2 separate regions of the Homo sapiens genome follow, and region 2 is linked to region 1. The links are contacts of gene promoters, found by promoter capture Hi-C in blood cells and fetal thymus (Javierre and others, 2016). All regions are on one chromosome and are shown on one strand. Each heading gives the region's core, a stretch centred on a gene start or on the middle of the fragment in contact. The rest is flanking DNA. Distances are from core to core; before and after follow the strand shown.

The links. The method cuts DNA at HindIII sites, captures the fragments that hold promoters and counts their contacts. A CHiCAGO score of 5 or more calls a contact.
Region 2: a fragment that was not itself captured here is called in contact with the fragment with the promoter of THYN1 in region 1 in 1 of 17 cell types (naive CD8 T cells); the score reaches 5.2 in naive CD8 T cells.

The regions. Positions count from the first base shown.
Region 1 is chr11:134,250,820-134,257,807 of GRCh38, forward strand. It overlaps THYN1 (thymocyte nuclear protein 1), which reads right to left and starts at 2,533. Exons shown (of 7, transcript NM_014174.3): 1 at 2,021-2,533; 2 at 311-489. The coding sequence starts at 2,063. It overlaps ACAD8 (acyl-CoA dehydrogenase family member 8), which reads left to right and starts at 2,749. Exons shown (of 11, transcript NM_014384.3): 1 at 2,749-2,890; 2 at 5,729-5,829; 3 at 6,269-6,438. The coding sequence starts at 2,782. RefSeq lists an enhancer at 2,294-2,663. The HindIII fragment of the contact is 5,608 bases long and covers 842-6,449 here.
Region 2 is chr11:130,069,192-130,075,899 of GRCh38, forward strand. APLP2 (amyloid beta precursor like protein 2) reads left to right here and starts at 703. Exons shown (of 17, transcript NM_001142276.2): 1 at 703-891. The coding sequence starts at 787. It overlaps LOC107984432 (a long non-coding RNA gene), which reads right to left and starts at 458. Exons shown (of 2, transcript XR_001748444.2): 1 at 273-458. RefSeq lists an enhancer at 1-395 and silencers at 312-541, 932-1,061, 1,132-1,591. The HindIII fragment of the contact is 611 bases long and covers 2,145-2,755 here.

The DNA.
Region 1 (6,988 bases), core at 1,283-3,782:
CACAGCTGTTTACTTATTATCTGTGGCCACTCTCTTGCTACAAGGGCAGGGTTGCAACAGAGACTGTAACACGCACAAGCCTACAAAATTTACTATCTGGCCCTTTGTGGCAAAGGTTAGCCAACCCCTGCCCTAGATACACAGGTTCACAAACCAGCTGATGATAATAAACCCTGCCGATTTTATTCATTTTTACCTTTTTCCTTCCCTTCAAAGATAAGAAGCTGGGGATGGAACCCTATGGTGTCCCATATTCACTTCTCATTTAAAAAACACCATGAAGGGACTGGAGACAGGTCAAGGGTCTCACCTTCACATCTACACCTTTCTCTAGGCGGCTCTCTGGCTCTGACTTCATCAGCCAGTGGCTGCTTAGATTCTTCAAACAGTTTTTAGTGGCTGAAGTCTTCTGAGGGTTGGAGTCCTCCACTTTAGCTAATGCCTCACCTGAGTTCTCAGTTTTGGTGCGTTTTCCTGATAGTCCCTTGTCTGCAATAGGAGAAGCAAAAAGAAAAGATCATGCTTGTTAAAGGCAATGTTTCATAATGGAAAAAGCTTAGCTTTGGAGTCAGACCTGGATTCAAATCATGGATCCATTACCAGCTGTAGGAACTTAATCTTACTGTTAAGAAGCTTTCCTTATCTATAAAAATTAGACAAGAATACCTACCTTACAGGGTATCTTCTGGATTATCTATTCAATAGGGTAAGAACACCTTACAGGGTTGTTCAGGATTAAAGGTCCGGACAGTAGTCAATACATGTTTTCCTTTCCTCACTCTCTCTTCTATGCCTTTGCATAGGAAAGAGGAAACTGAGCACCTACTTGCAACTATTTTGAAGCTTAAATGAGGTAATACAAAGGGCCTAGACAATGCCTGGCATTACAATAAGTGCATAATAAAAGCATTATTATTCTCATCTCATACGTCTTTCCTTCTTGCTCACTGTGGCTCCTGGCCCATCTCCTTTCTGCTCCTTGAAGGTGCCAATAAAAGTTGAAAGAAACAGTTCATTCAGGACATTGTAGAAAAATGGTGATGATTCGATTTCATCCCAAGACAATCAGAATGTGCCTGGAACACAGTAGGCATTCAGTAGCTAAGTTGTTAAATTACTATATGACAGGGCCCAAGGTCTATGTGTTACCCTAACCCTAACTCGGTTAATCTACATAACCTGTGAGATGTTCTACTCTTCATCTGGGAAGCATGCTCCAGATCACACATCCAGTAATGGTGGAATCAAGATATGAGGTCAGCACCTGTCACTGAGGTCTATCTGAAGCTACTTAATGACTATACTGCCTCTGAATTTAGTCAAAGTCCCTACATCAATTGTCATTAAATACCATTTATGGCTGTCTAATGCTCTGAACCCAGCATACCTTCCTAACCTAGTTTCCTAATGGCCCCTTAGGAGTTAACAGGCCCACTGCAAACACCACATATTGATAAATAACTGCAATGTGCTGTAGTATATCTGGAACCCCTGTCATTCCCAAAAGAGGTACTTTCTGTACCTTCCAATGTTCCTCCTCCTCCATCCACTTAGAATGCCATCCATCTTTGTGATTATAAAAACGACATCACGTTTTCTTAGTACTAAACTTTGCCCGTGGAAAGTCTCCCATTCTTCAAGGCTGGGCTCAAATTCCACATCCTTCTCGAGGCCTTCCCCGTGATTCCTCCCTCCATAAACTTAACAATCCATTTTCCTGAACCCCATCACATCTGTTTGCAGTTCACCCGCAAGCAGGCGCTTTATATTCTTTAGCACGCCACCTGGTATCTCAAAGAGTCTTTGTGCACAACAACCATTGCCTGAATAAACAAGAAAAAGGAACTGTAGGTAGGAGCTTGGTGAGACAAGTAAAGAAGATGGAGAGTGATTAAGGATAATGGAGTAAAAATATCACAAAGGGTTCTCAAAAAGCAGGGAGTGAAAAATGAGTACTAAACAGGCTCTTCGAGAAAAGTTTTTTCTTGGGCTGCCTTTGTGCAGCCTAGGGGCAGCTCACCTGAACCAGAAGTCCCAGCCAGCCTCTTCCGGGGTCTCGACATGGTCACGCTGCAGGGGACTTTAGTGCGGACGATTCTGGAATCAACGGAGATACAAGAAAGAATGCTAATGTCCTCCAAAACCCGCGCAGAGCGAGATGGAGGCAACGAGAGGCAGCCTAGAACGTCTCCAACTTTTGCGAAACACAGACGCCTACGTTTGAGCCCTCAAATCCTTCCCTCCGTTATCTGCGCCATTTCCATCTCGCATAACCTGCCCCTAAACTCTTCTCGGTTCTGTCCTTGGTCCTTCTCATCCAGGAACCCCTATCTCAGTATGTAGTTCACTGGGAAGTGGCTCCACAGAGACACTTTTGTTGGGTGAATATAAGTAAGCCTTGTGTTACCTTGTTATCCTTGCTAATTAGGATCAACTGAATGGATAATCTAGATGATGAAGTAATTTGCTGGCTACAGACCCAACACTCTGCAGACTCGACTGCGGTCCGCCTCCGCTGCGCCGCAGGCTGTGCAGCGCGACCCCCGCGGCGCTTGGTGGGCGGTGCATCTCTGCGGCGCCGAGGCCCCGAGGACTTCTGGGAATTGTAGTCCTGTCCCCTTGGGAGCCCGCCTGGCACCTGGGTTGTTAGGGCTCGTGGGAGGACTACAACCCCCAGGGTGCAGTGGGACAGGCGTTGCCGGGTCGCAGGTCCCGCCAGTGCGAGCGCAACGGAGGTCGAAGGCGTTCAGACTCTTAGCTGAACGCGGAGCTGCGGCGGCTATGCTGTGGAGCGGCTGCCGGCGTTTCGGGGCGCGCCTCGGCTGCCTGCCCGGCGGTCTCCGGGTCCTCGTCCAGACCGGCCACCGGAGCTTGACCTCCTGCATCGACCGTAAGGATCTCCTGGCGGGCAGTAGGACAGGTGTCCAGAACCCCGGCGGACATATGTCCGCGAGGGGCTGCAGTCTCCCCGTTCCATCCAGTCACCCCGGCGTCAGCTCCCCTTCCGGCCAGTCACCCCCCCGGCCTGGCTCCCTACTCCGGCCGGTCACCCCCGGCCTGGCTGCCCCCTCCGGTCGGTCACCACCATCCGGGTCCCCATCTGGCCCGTCACCCCTGCCCGGGTCCTCCTCCGGCCGGTCACCCCCGCCCCGGTCCTCCTCCGGCCGGTCACCCCCGCCCCGGTCCTCCTCCGGCCGGTCACCCCCCGCAGGTTCCCCTCCGGCCGGTCATCCCCCCGCAGGTTCCCCTCCGGCCCGGGTCCTCCTGCGGCCGGTCACCCTCGGATGCTTAGAGAAGTGAAGAAACTTGGGGCTTGGTTGTTGTTGGGTTGGTTGGTTTTTAATCATAACAGTAGGTCATAAAAGCAGTGAGAATATAAGAAGCTGGCTGGGTGCTGATGGTGACAACTGCACAAGAACTCCAGGTCATACAAGATTTGCTCACACACAAAGATTTGGTATCTTAACACCTCTGGCTATAAGACACTTTTAGTGTTGAAACTCATGCAGGAAAAATAATTATTATTGCCAGTGGGAAACTCTACCAGAGCTGACAAACTTGAGTGTCTTTAGGCTCTGAACAGTAATTTGAATGTAGCGAGGAGTGGTGGAGACCCGGCCAGTTTGTGACTTCTCTGCCAAGAATGTTTATAAACACTTTTTTCTTCTGAAATATTTTTAAATTTATTTTAAATAAATGGCAGTTTTCTTTACAACAGAATAAGTCCCTTAGATATCAGATCTATAAAGTACAGTAAGGCATAGAATACTGTTTTCTTCTGAATGTCCTAAAACTCATTCAAGAGGTGCTGCCCTGGCCTAGCGCTTAGAATTTGATAACCCAGATTACCCTGGTTGATACCGAAGCAGATAAGGAATTATTTAGAGGTGGGTTTTGTTATTGTTTGCATCTTGCTTACACTTGAGTGGCTCTGCAGTCAAAGGCTTTTCCCATTTCATTTGGAGTGTTTTTCTATTTAGCTTTACCTTTTTAGTGTATATGTATTGGCATCTTGAGCTCTGCTAGTAACTATGTATTGGCATCTTGAACTCTGCTAGTAACTGGCAAAGTTCATGAGTGGTGGTATTTGTTTTGTTTTTATACTGTATTTCCTTCTGGGAACTTGTGTTTACTTATGCATATGATTTGCATAAAACTATTTCCTTCCATTAGAATGCAACTCAGATTTATTTCTTAAGCCTGTGGTTCCTTGAACTATTTGTTTTAGGAAGTAGCCATTTACAGAAGAAGAAGATTTGTTAACATTTAATGAGCTCTTGCTAGGATTGAAATAGTCATCCTTTGTGTGAATGGATCTTATTTATTTATTTTTTTGAGATGGAGTCTCTTTCTGTTGCCCAGGCTGGAGTACAGTGGTGCGATCTCAACTCACCGCAACCTCTGCCCCACGGGTTCAAGCAATTCTTGTGCCTCAGCCTCCCAAGTAGCTGGGATTACAGCACATGCCACCATGCCCAGCTAATTTTTATATTTTTAGTAGAGACGGGGTTTCACCATGTTGGACAAGCTGGACTTGAACTCCTGACCTCAAGTGATCCACCTGCCTTGGCCTCCCCAAAGTCTGGGATTACAGGCATGAGCCACTGCGCCTGGCTGGATCATATTTATTTTTGTAACCCCAGCACTGCTACCTAGTAAACACCCAATAAACATTCTTTTGGAAATGATCTTTGAGCCATGGTCTACAGTAACAGCAACCCTTGTACAAAATTGTGTGAATAAATGGCCTGACCCCAGTCAGAGAACCATGAATTGTTTATCCCTAACTCTGTTCCTGAGGGTAATACCCAACATAGGTTTCTGCTCTGAGTTTCTCAAGGCAGCCTAATCGTTAATCCTCAGAACTCTTCATTTCTGACTTTCCCATTTTAATGAGAGTACTGATCACAGAAAGCAGTGCCCTCTCCAGGCTCGCATAGCCAGCCATTACTGATGCCCAGATTTGCCCCAAGGAACAGACTCTGGCACCTGCCCTTGTGTTCTTCTGTGAGGACTGCATCGCTTGTAGGCACTGAAGTAAATTATTGCCAAGTGTGGCGCCATAGTCTTCCCATAGTGCTCTTTTTTCTTTTTTTCTTCTTTTGAAACAGAGTCTTGCTCTGTCACCCAGGCTAGAGTGCAATGGCACAATCTCAGCTCACTGCAACCTCTGCCTCCTGGGTTCAAGCGATTCTCCTGTCTCACCCTCCCAAAGTAGCTGGGATTACAGGCATGCGCCACCACACCCAGCTAATTTTTGTATTTTTAGTAGAGGCGGGGTTTTTCCATGTTGGTCAGGCTGGTCTTGAGCTCCTGACCTCAGGTGATCTGCCCGCCTCGGCCTCCTGAAGTGCTGGGATTATAGGCGTGAACCATCACGCCCAGCCCATAGTGCTCTTCAGTGTCAGTTATAATGACCAAAGTTCTAGCACTGTGGCCTCAACCTCTAGGTCTACAACTGCATTTTACTAAGTGCTAGGATAAGAGATGTCTGGAAGTCCCCTATCCTGTTCTAGGTTGATCTGGATGTGTGCTAGAACTGTCCTTTCTCCATATGACAAGTGGAATAACGACAGAAGCTGCCATTCTCTAGCTGTTAAAGGCTATACCGTGTATGGGAAATACTACAGTAGATCCACTTTCACAACTTCGTGGTGCTTCTTGTTGGCAACACCTTGTTGGCAACACTGACCCTGTCCTAGAACAGTATATGCAATCCTGCCCACAGCTTCCATGGGACTTAATGAAGAGCAGAAAGAATTTCAAAAAGTGGCCTTTGACTTTGCTGCCCGAGAGATGGCTCCAAATATGGCAGAGTGGGACCAGAAGGTAGGCGTTTTTCTTGTGCTTAGACGTTCTAACAACAGATGTCTCAGGCAGACCTTTATCTTTGTCTCCTGATAATGTAATTGTTAAATGTCTCCTCCACTTACCAACTCTTACTGCAAGTGAGAATACCGGTAGTGGATGATTTTTCCTAGAAGGCATCCTGATCATCTTGTACATAACTTTTTTTTTGTTAGTTGAATAAAGATTTGGATATAAAACTAAGGCAGTTCTATAGATAATAAAAAGAAACTTCTTAATGCCAGAACAAGTTTTTACAGGACCCATGTTAACTGATAACCACTGTAAGATGACAAACAGGCATATTAAGAGAATTCATACGCTGTCGCATGTGCAAGCCTCCTAATCCCTCACTGTGCCCTCTAAAAGGAAGGCCGTCTCTGAATCAGCTGCTGATCACCCTGCTCTCTTTTGTACATAGGAGCTGTTCCCAGTGGATGTGATGCGGAAGGCAGCCCAGCTAGGCTTCGGAGGGGTCTACATACAAACAGATGTGGGCGGGTCTGGGCTGTCACGTCTTGATACCTCTGTCATTTTTGAAGCCTTGGCTACAGGCTGCACCAGCACCACAGCCTATATAAGCATCCACAAGTGAGTGCCCAAGCTTGGAAGGCACAATGAAGTGCTCACTCGGGCTGACTGTGAGAGTTCAGATTCGTAGGAAAAAGATTGATCTTTTGAAGCTGAGTGTCCTCAAGGAACTGGACTTAAAAGTACACTCTAGGGGCCGGGCGCAGTGGCTCGTGCCTGTAATCCCAGCACTTTGGGAGGCCAAGGCAGGCAGATCACGAGGTCAGGAGTTTGAGACCAGCCTGGCCAACGTGGTGAAACCCCGTCCCTGCTAAAAATACAAAAAATTAGCCGGGTGTGGTGGCTGGCGCCTGTAGTCCCAGCTACTCGGGAGGCTGAGGCAGGAGGATGGTGTGAACCCGGGAGGCGGAGCTTGCAGTGAGCCGAGATGGACCACTGCACTCCAGCCTGGGCGACAGAGCGAGACTCCATCTCAAAAAAAATAAATAAATAAAATAAGTACACGCTAGGTCTGTTGCTGCCTGTTGGACTTGATTCTGTCATCCTGTGTATTGCTTAGGGAATCAGGTCAGCCAGCTTTCTCAGAAATCTTATTTTGAGCTGGTACCAG
Region 2 (6,708 bases), core at 1,200-3,699, 4.2 Mb before region 1:
CAACTGCTGGGAAGGAAGGGTCGGCAAGAGGCCTAAAGACCGGAGGCCAAGGGTGCGGAGCGCGGCCGGACTCAGAGGCGAGGACCCGGCGGAGAGGCCTGGGCGGAGCAGGGCGGGAGAGGCGCGCCCTGAGTAGGGCTCGGGGGAGGACGATGGCTGCCTCCTGCGGTCCTCCCCCTGCCTCGGGGGACGGCCCTTGGCAGACCGTCCCGGACTCCTAATTCATCCTGTTTTTAATAAAACCATTTCCAGAATCAAAAAGAGGGCGGTACCCAAAGGAGTCTGAAGAATGCCCAGCAGGGGCAGGGGAGCGGGGCGTGCCCGTATCGGGAGGCTGAAGGCTGACGGACCAGCGCAGCAGGGACAGATAACCGCGCCGGGGGGCGGAGGCCAGAGCCAGCCCCGCGCCCACAGGGTTGCGGCCCCAGACCCGCCGCGCGCACGCCCCCGCGCCTGGCGGCCACAGGGTCCGGAGCGGGGGCGGGGCCATCCGCGGCCGGGGGCGGGGCCGGGCGGGGGGCGCGCGGTTGGACCGGGCGGGAGGAGCAGGCTCTTCCATCTCCTGATTGGGTCTGGACCGCAAGGGGGCGGGGTCTTGAGGGGTTCTGCGGGCCGGCATTGGGAGCCGCAGAAGGAGGGCGTGGTAATATGAAGTCAGTTCCGGTTGGTGTAAAACCCCCGGGGCGGCGGCGAACTGGCTTTAGATGCTTCTGGGTCGCGGTGTGCTAAGCGAGGAGTCCGAGTGTGTGAGCTTGAGAGCCGCGCGCTAGAGCGACCCGGCGAGGGATGGCGGCCACCGGGACCGCGGCCGCCGCAGCCACGGGCAGGCTCCTGCTTCTGCTGCTGGTGGGGCTCACGGCGCCTGCCTTGGCGCTGGCCGGCTACATCGAGGTGGGGACCGGGCGAACGCCGGAGAGTCGTCTCCTTCGCCCGCCGGAGGAGCGCGGACTGCGGGCGGGCAGCGGGGTCCGCGGCAGGGCGGGCCGGCGGTGCGGCGCCGGGGGTCCGGCTCTGCGGCGGGTCTGGCGCGCCCTCCCCCGCCCGTCCCTGCTTGGCGCAGTGCTTAGCGCTGGAGGTCGGGCTGCCTCAGCCGCCGCAGAGGCCAAATGAAAGGCGTCGGGGCTGCTGGGGGCGGCCGTCCGCCTCGGCCGACCCAGCCCCCAACCCGCCCGCGGCGCCGCCACCTCCTCCGGGGACCCAGTGCCCCCGGGCGCCCGCCCCGCCCTCCCCCGGGACAATGCCAGGGCGCTCCTCTCCCGCCGGAGTCCGCGGCTGGGCTTTCTCCAGGGGCGGCCCCGCGCGGACCCCGTACGCTCCCTCGCGCGGCACCGGGGCCTCGGCTCCGGGCCTCCCACCTGCGAGCGGCGGGCTTCGCCTTTGTTGCCAGGTGGACGCGGCCCCGGCCTTCGCGCGCGGCAGGGATGCTGCGAGCCCCGGGGGAGCTCCCGCGCCAGGCCGCCCGCTGCTCCCTCTGCCGCCTGGGGCCGGGTCGCGGACGCGCATTTTTTAAGTGGCGCTGTTTGCCTGCGTCCGTAGACCGAGGAAACCCGCTCTGGGTGCGTTGACCGCTTTCGTGAGGGTTTCAGTGAGTAGGGAAGGTGCCCGCGAAGGCGTGTAAACTGTTGGAAAAATCGTCCTCTTCGGGTGTCAGAATTCCATCAGTGGTTGTGCTTCGAGGTCGCACCCTGAGCATCCCCGCTGCGAGAAAGGCGAAGCGGCAGGGCCGGGGGTTGGGGAGGCCGCGGGAGGGGGCGGGGGCGGCGGGGTCCGCGGTGCGGGCCGGAGCGGGCAGCCTTGGAGGAGCCCTGCTGTGGCCGAGGGAGACGGCGAGCTTGATCTTTACTTCCCTTCTCGAAGTGGTGCTTGAACTGCTGGTCTGGAATGTGTAGTTCTGGTGTCGTTTATTTCTTCTCCCTCTTCGCTCTTTTAAAAATTACAACTGGTTTCTGCATACTTAGCTAATTTCAGAGAGACCTGAAGACTGGATTTGATTGGGCATTAATTGAGAGCTTTCTTTTAAAGACCTCAGGTTTAGAATATATTTACTTCTACAGAATGTTCAAGTATTTCCACGGGTAAAAATAAATCTAATAAAAAGCCTCTCTGATGGAACGGCTTAACACCTTTGTATTCATCCAGTTTAAAGCTTTGTGACTGTGAGGGTAAGAAAGGAGTTCAGCTTTAAAGAGAAATAGTTAACGTTTATCTACAGAGGATTTTGGATTGCGATTGTTTCAGTGTGTCCACACAATGGTCAGAGTTGTATCTGTGATCCCTGATATGTCGCATGAAAACAGCTAGGTGAGTGAGATGGGAAGAAAAAATAAAGGCTTTCGTATGGAAGATGGGACTTCACTAGTGGGTCGGGTGTCAGAAACCATCGTTCACACTCGCACTCCACTTCCCACTGCTATGACTAATTTGAGGCATTAGTGAATTCACAGTAGAAGACTCAGCAGTTTTAAAGAATTCGTTAATACTTGTGTAGCGGGAAAAAATAATATGAGAATTCATTGTTGTGTGTTAAATTTGATTGTTAGCCACAGCGTTGTTCAGTTGAAAAGTATGGTTGAAGAAAGTAGGAATTAAACATTTCTGAAAAATGGTTTTATGGTAACTCCTGTTCTTTGGAGCTGTATTTTTGCTCACACTTACTAAATGATCTTTCAAGGGGCCTTTTGTCAAGCTATCAGAATTTTATTCATATGAATATAATTTGATTTTGTTTATTTGCTGTCAGGCAAGGGACTGTCGAAGCTTAATTTAGATGAGAGTGGCCTAAATCAGGATGTCTTTGGGAAGGCCCTGATTGAGATTAGCGAAAGGGATTCTGGCCAAATCCCTGATCAAGTTGCTTGGCACAGAATTATTGATTGGCAAATCTTTAGTGTTGCTTGGTGTTGACTGAATTAATCTCTTACACCTGTTTAAAAAGAAAAAGCTCACCTCTGGACTCAGGGTCACTTCCTCTCTTAAATCCGAGACAAGTTCTCCTGTGTGCATGCTCCCATTTGGGACTGAGACAGTATTGTGCTGAAACCCCGCATACTGTGCAGTGGATGACTAGGCTCCTGAGAACCGGAACTTGAGTTTGTTCTGTCACATTTGAAAGAAAGAAGGCCATTTGATTGCCAGTTTTCTGGAAACTCAAACCCAAATTAAAGGATGTCAACTGAGGCAGAGTAGAGAAGGCTTTGTGTTGGTGTTTCTGACAGGTGGTATGGGAGATGTGTAATTGTACCTTGGAGAGAAACCTTGGTGTGCTTCTGATAGGAATATCGTCTTTTTTTTTTTTTTTTTTTTGATACGGAGTCTCGCTCTGTCCCAGGCTGGAGTGCAATGGTGGGATCTCTGGGCTCACTGCAACTTCCGCCTTCCGAGTTCAAGCGATTCTCCTGCCTCAGACTCCCAAGTAGCTGGGATTGCAGGCGCCTGCCACCACGCCCAGCTAATTTTTGTATTTTTAGTAGAGACAGGGTTTCACCATGTTGGCCAGGCTGGTCTGGAACACCTGATCTCAGGTGATCCACCTGCCTCGGCCTCCCAAAGTGCTGGGATTACAGGCGTGAGCCACAGCGCCCGGCCCGTTATTTTTATCATAACTATGTTTTAAAAATCTTTTGATAAATACGATAAACTTCAGTTTTATCAATTAGTTCCTCCTTTTGTAGAGGGAATTTGTTTTACCATCTAAAGCCAGGCTTTCCCAGGGTGTAGCCACAAGCCACATGTGGTTATTGAGTCTGTAGGGTGACTAGTGTGAATGAGGAGTGAATTTTTCATTTTATTTAATTTTAATTAATTTAAGTTTACATTTAAAATCTGATTCAGTGGTTGGAAAACTTTTAACTGAAATAATTTGGTTATGCGAATTTACTTTTAAACTGTACATTTTATGAAATCTAAATGTAGATCAAGTATTTCCTATGAAAATTTAGCTTCTGAATTGAGATGTACTGGAAGTGTAACATACACATCAGATTTTGAAGATTTAATACAGAAGAATTAAAATCTCAATTTTTGTATTGACTAAATTGAAACAATACTTTAGACATGGGCTAAATAAAACATTAAAATTAATTTCACTTGTTTCTTTTCACTCTAATATGGTTCCTAGAAAATTTAATACTATGTATGTGGCTCACATTGTATTTCTGTTAGATGGTGCTGATTTAAAATTTTGCTTAAAGTTGGTCCTGCATATGTTTTTATTAGCAGAATTTTTTAATATGTTCCTATATTTTTCCACATAAAGTCTTGCTGGAAGTTGGCCCAACATGCTCTTAAGTATTTTTGTTAGAACAATTTTGAATGTGTTGATTTTTAAACTTTTTCAATTAAAAATGTTTTACTTAGAAATAACTTTAATCACCAGGCGCGGTGGCTCACGCCTGTAATCCTAGCACTTTGGGAGGCCGAGGTGGGTGGATCACGAGGTCAGGAGTTCGAGACCAGCCTGAGCAACATGGTGAAACTCCGTCTCTACTAAAAATACAAAAATTAGCTGGGCGAGATGGCGTGCGCCTGTAATCCCAGCTACTCAGGAGGCTGAGGCAGGAGAATCTGGGAGGTGGAGGTTACAGTGAGCCGAGATCACACCACTGCACTCCAGCCTGGGCAACAGAGCGAGACTCCATCTCAAGAAAACAAGAATAAAAAAAAGAAATAACTTTAATCTTATAAAAAATGCAAAAATTGTACAATTTTCTTACCCTTTACTCAGATTCACCAATTGTTAACATTTCTTCTAGTCACATTTGCTTTACTACTGCATTTTTTGCCAAATTATTTGAGAGTAAGTTGCATACGTCGTCCCCCATCCCCTTTACCCCTGAGAACTTCAGTATATATTTTCTAAGAGCCAAAGACATTGTCTTACATAGGCTTAGTACAGCCATCAACCTAATGAAATTTAACATTGATACAATACTTGGATCTTATCTGCTGTCGGTTTTCTAGTTAGTTTGTTGACCCAATCATGTTCTTTATAGCATTTGAAAACATGTTTTGTTGTTGTTGTTGTTGTTTTGTTTTTCTTTTTTGAGTTGGAGTCTCACTCTGTCGCCCAGGCTGGAGTGCACTGGCATGATCTCGGCTTACTGCAACCTCCGTTTTTCAGGTTCAAGCGACTCTCCTGCCTCAGCCTCCAGAGTAGCTGGGACTACAGGAGCCCACCACCATGCCTGGCTCATTTTTATATTTTTAGTAGAGACAGGGTTTCACCATATTGGCCAGGCTGGTTCCAAACTTCTGACCTTGTGATCTGCCTGCCTTGGCCTTCCAAAGTGCTGGGATTACAGGCGTGAGCCTCCACACCTGGCCCCTTTCAAGATTGTTTAATTCTGTTTACCCTTACTAAATTTTGAGGCTTTTGGATTTTCTTTCTAAAATAACAGAAGAAGAATTCTATAGGTAGTACATATTCATTGTAAGAAATTTAAAAGTACAGATAACCAATAAGAAGTGAAAAATGACCTAAAATCTTATTCCCCAGGGAAACCTTACTGTAATATTGTATATACCCTTCTGTTAATAGATAGGTCATGTACATAAATTTTATAAAAATGGCACATACTGCATATTGAAGCCAGCACCTAACAATGATTATTTCGAATTATGCTAACATGAACTACTCAAAGAAAATAATGTTTTCCGTGTGACAAAAAGTAGGGGTAAATCTTTGTACAGTAATTGTAGTTTCCATGGAGGGGCCAGTTGAGAGAGAATTCTAAATTGCCTATAATTCAATTTTCATGGGTTGATTTTTAATGAGATAAACTAGATTACCTTGAAGTTTAATTAAATTTAGTGTATTGTACCTTGATTTATGGCCTAAGATGGAAAGTGGACTATGTAGGCACATTCAAGCAGAAATGAGTTCCAGTCCTTTGTGTCAAGTACAACTAATAATTGCTTTTGCTGAGGGAATTTTTCTTACCTAAGCATCGTGAAGTCTTTATTTTTATTTTTTATTTTTTGAGACAGGGTCTCACTCTTACCAAGGCTGGAGTGCAGTGGCGCAGCCATGGCTCACTGCGGCCTCAAACTCCTGGGCTCAAGTGATCCTCCTGCCTCAGCCTCCCGAGTATCTAGGAGTACAGTGCATACCACCACATTCGGCCAAGATCTGTTTTTCAAAATGAGATCTTTTAAAACATAACTAATCTATTTTTTTAAAGATGAAGATTAGAAAATTAGCTGACTTTCATTTGTAATTCATCCTACTAGTATTTATTAAACCTGTTACATGGTTCTGTGCTAGATGCTAAACAGTACAGTAGTAAAACCAAATGTGGATAGTGCTTTTTACTTTGCGAAACACACTCGTGTATGATTTCTAGGCCCTAACCCCAGAGATTGTCGTTGAGTACCTCTGGGATGCTCAGTTTCAAAAGCTCCCCGGATGATTCTAATGTGCAAGGAGAGAAAAACAAAACAAAGTCTTTGGGTAATTTATCTCCATAAGTCCCTAACAGTCTCGTGAATTTGGTATTCTTATCCCTACCTAAAAAGGGAGTCAGTAGAGGCCGAGGGTTGAACATCACCCAGCTCGACCAGGGGAAGGAGTCTGCCCATCCTATCTAAGCCTACTGCTCTGTCCTGTCAGTGTGGTTCATATTTCCCTTTTGGATGCAGATTTCTTTTTACTCATGTCTACCTGTCTTTCCCATTACCAAAACCTGGTATGAGTGTTTCCCTTAAAAGGAA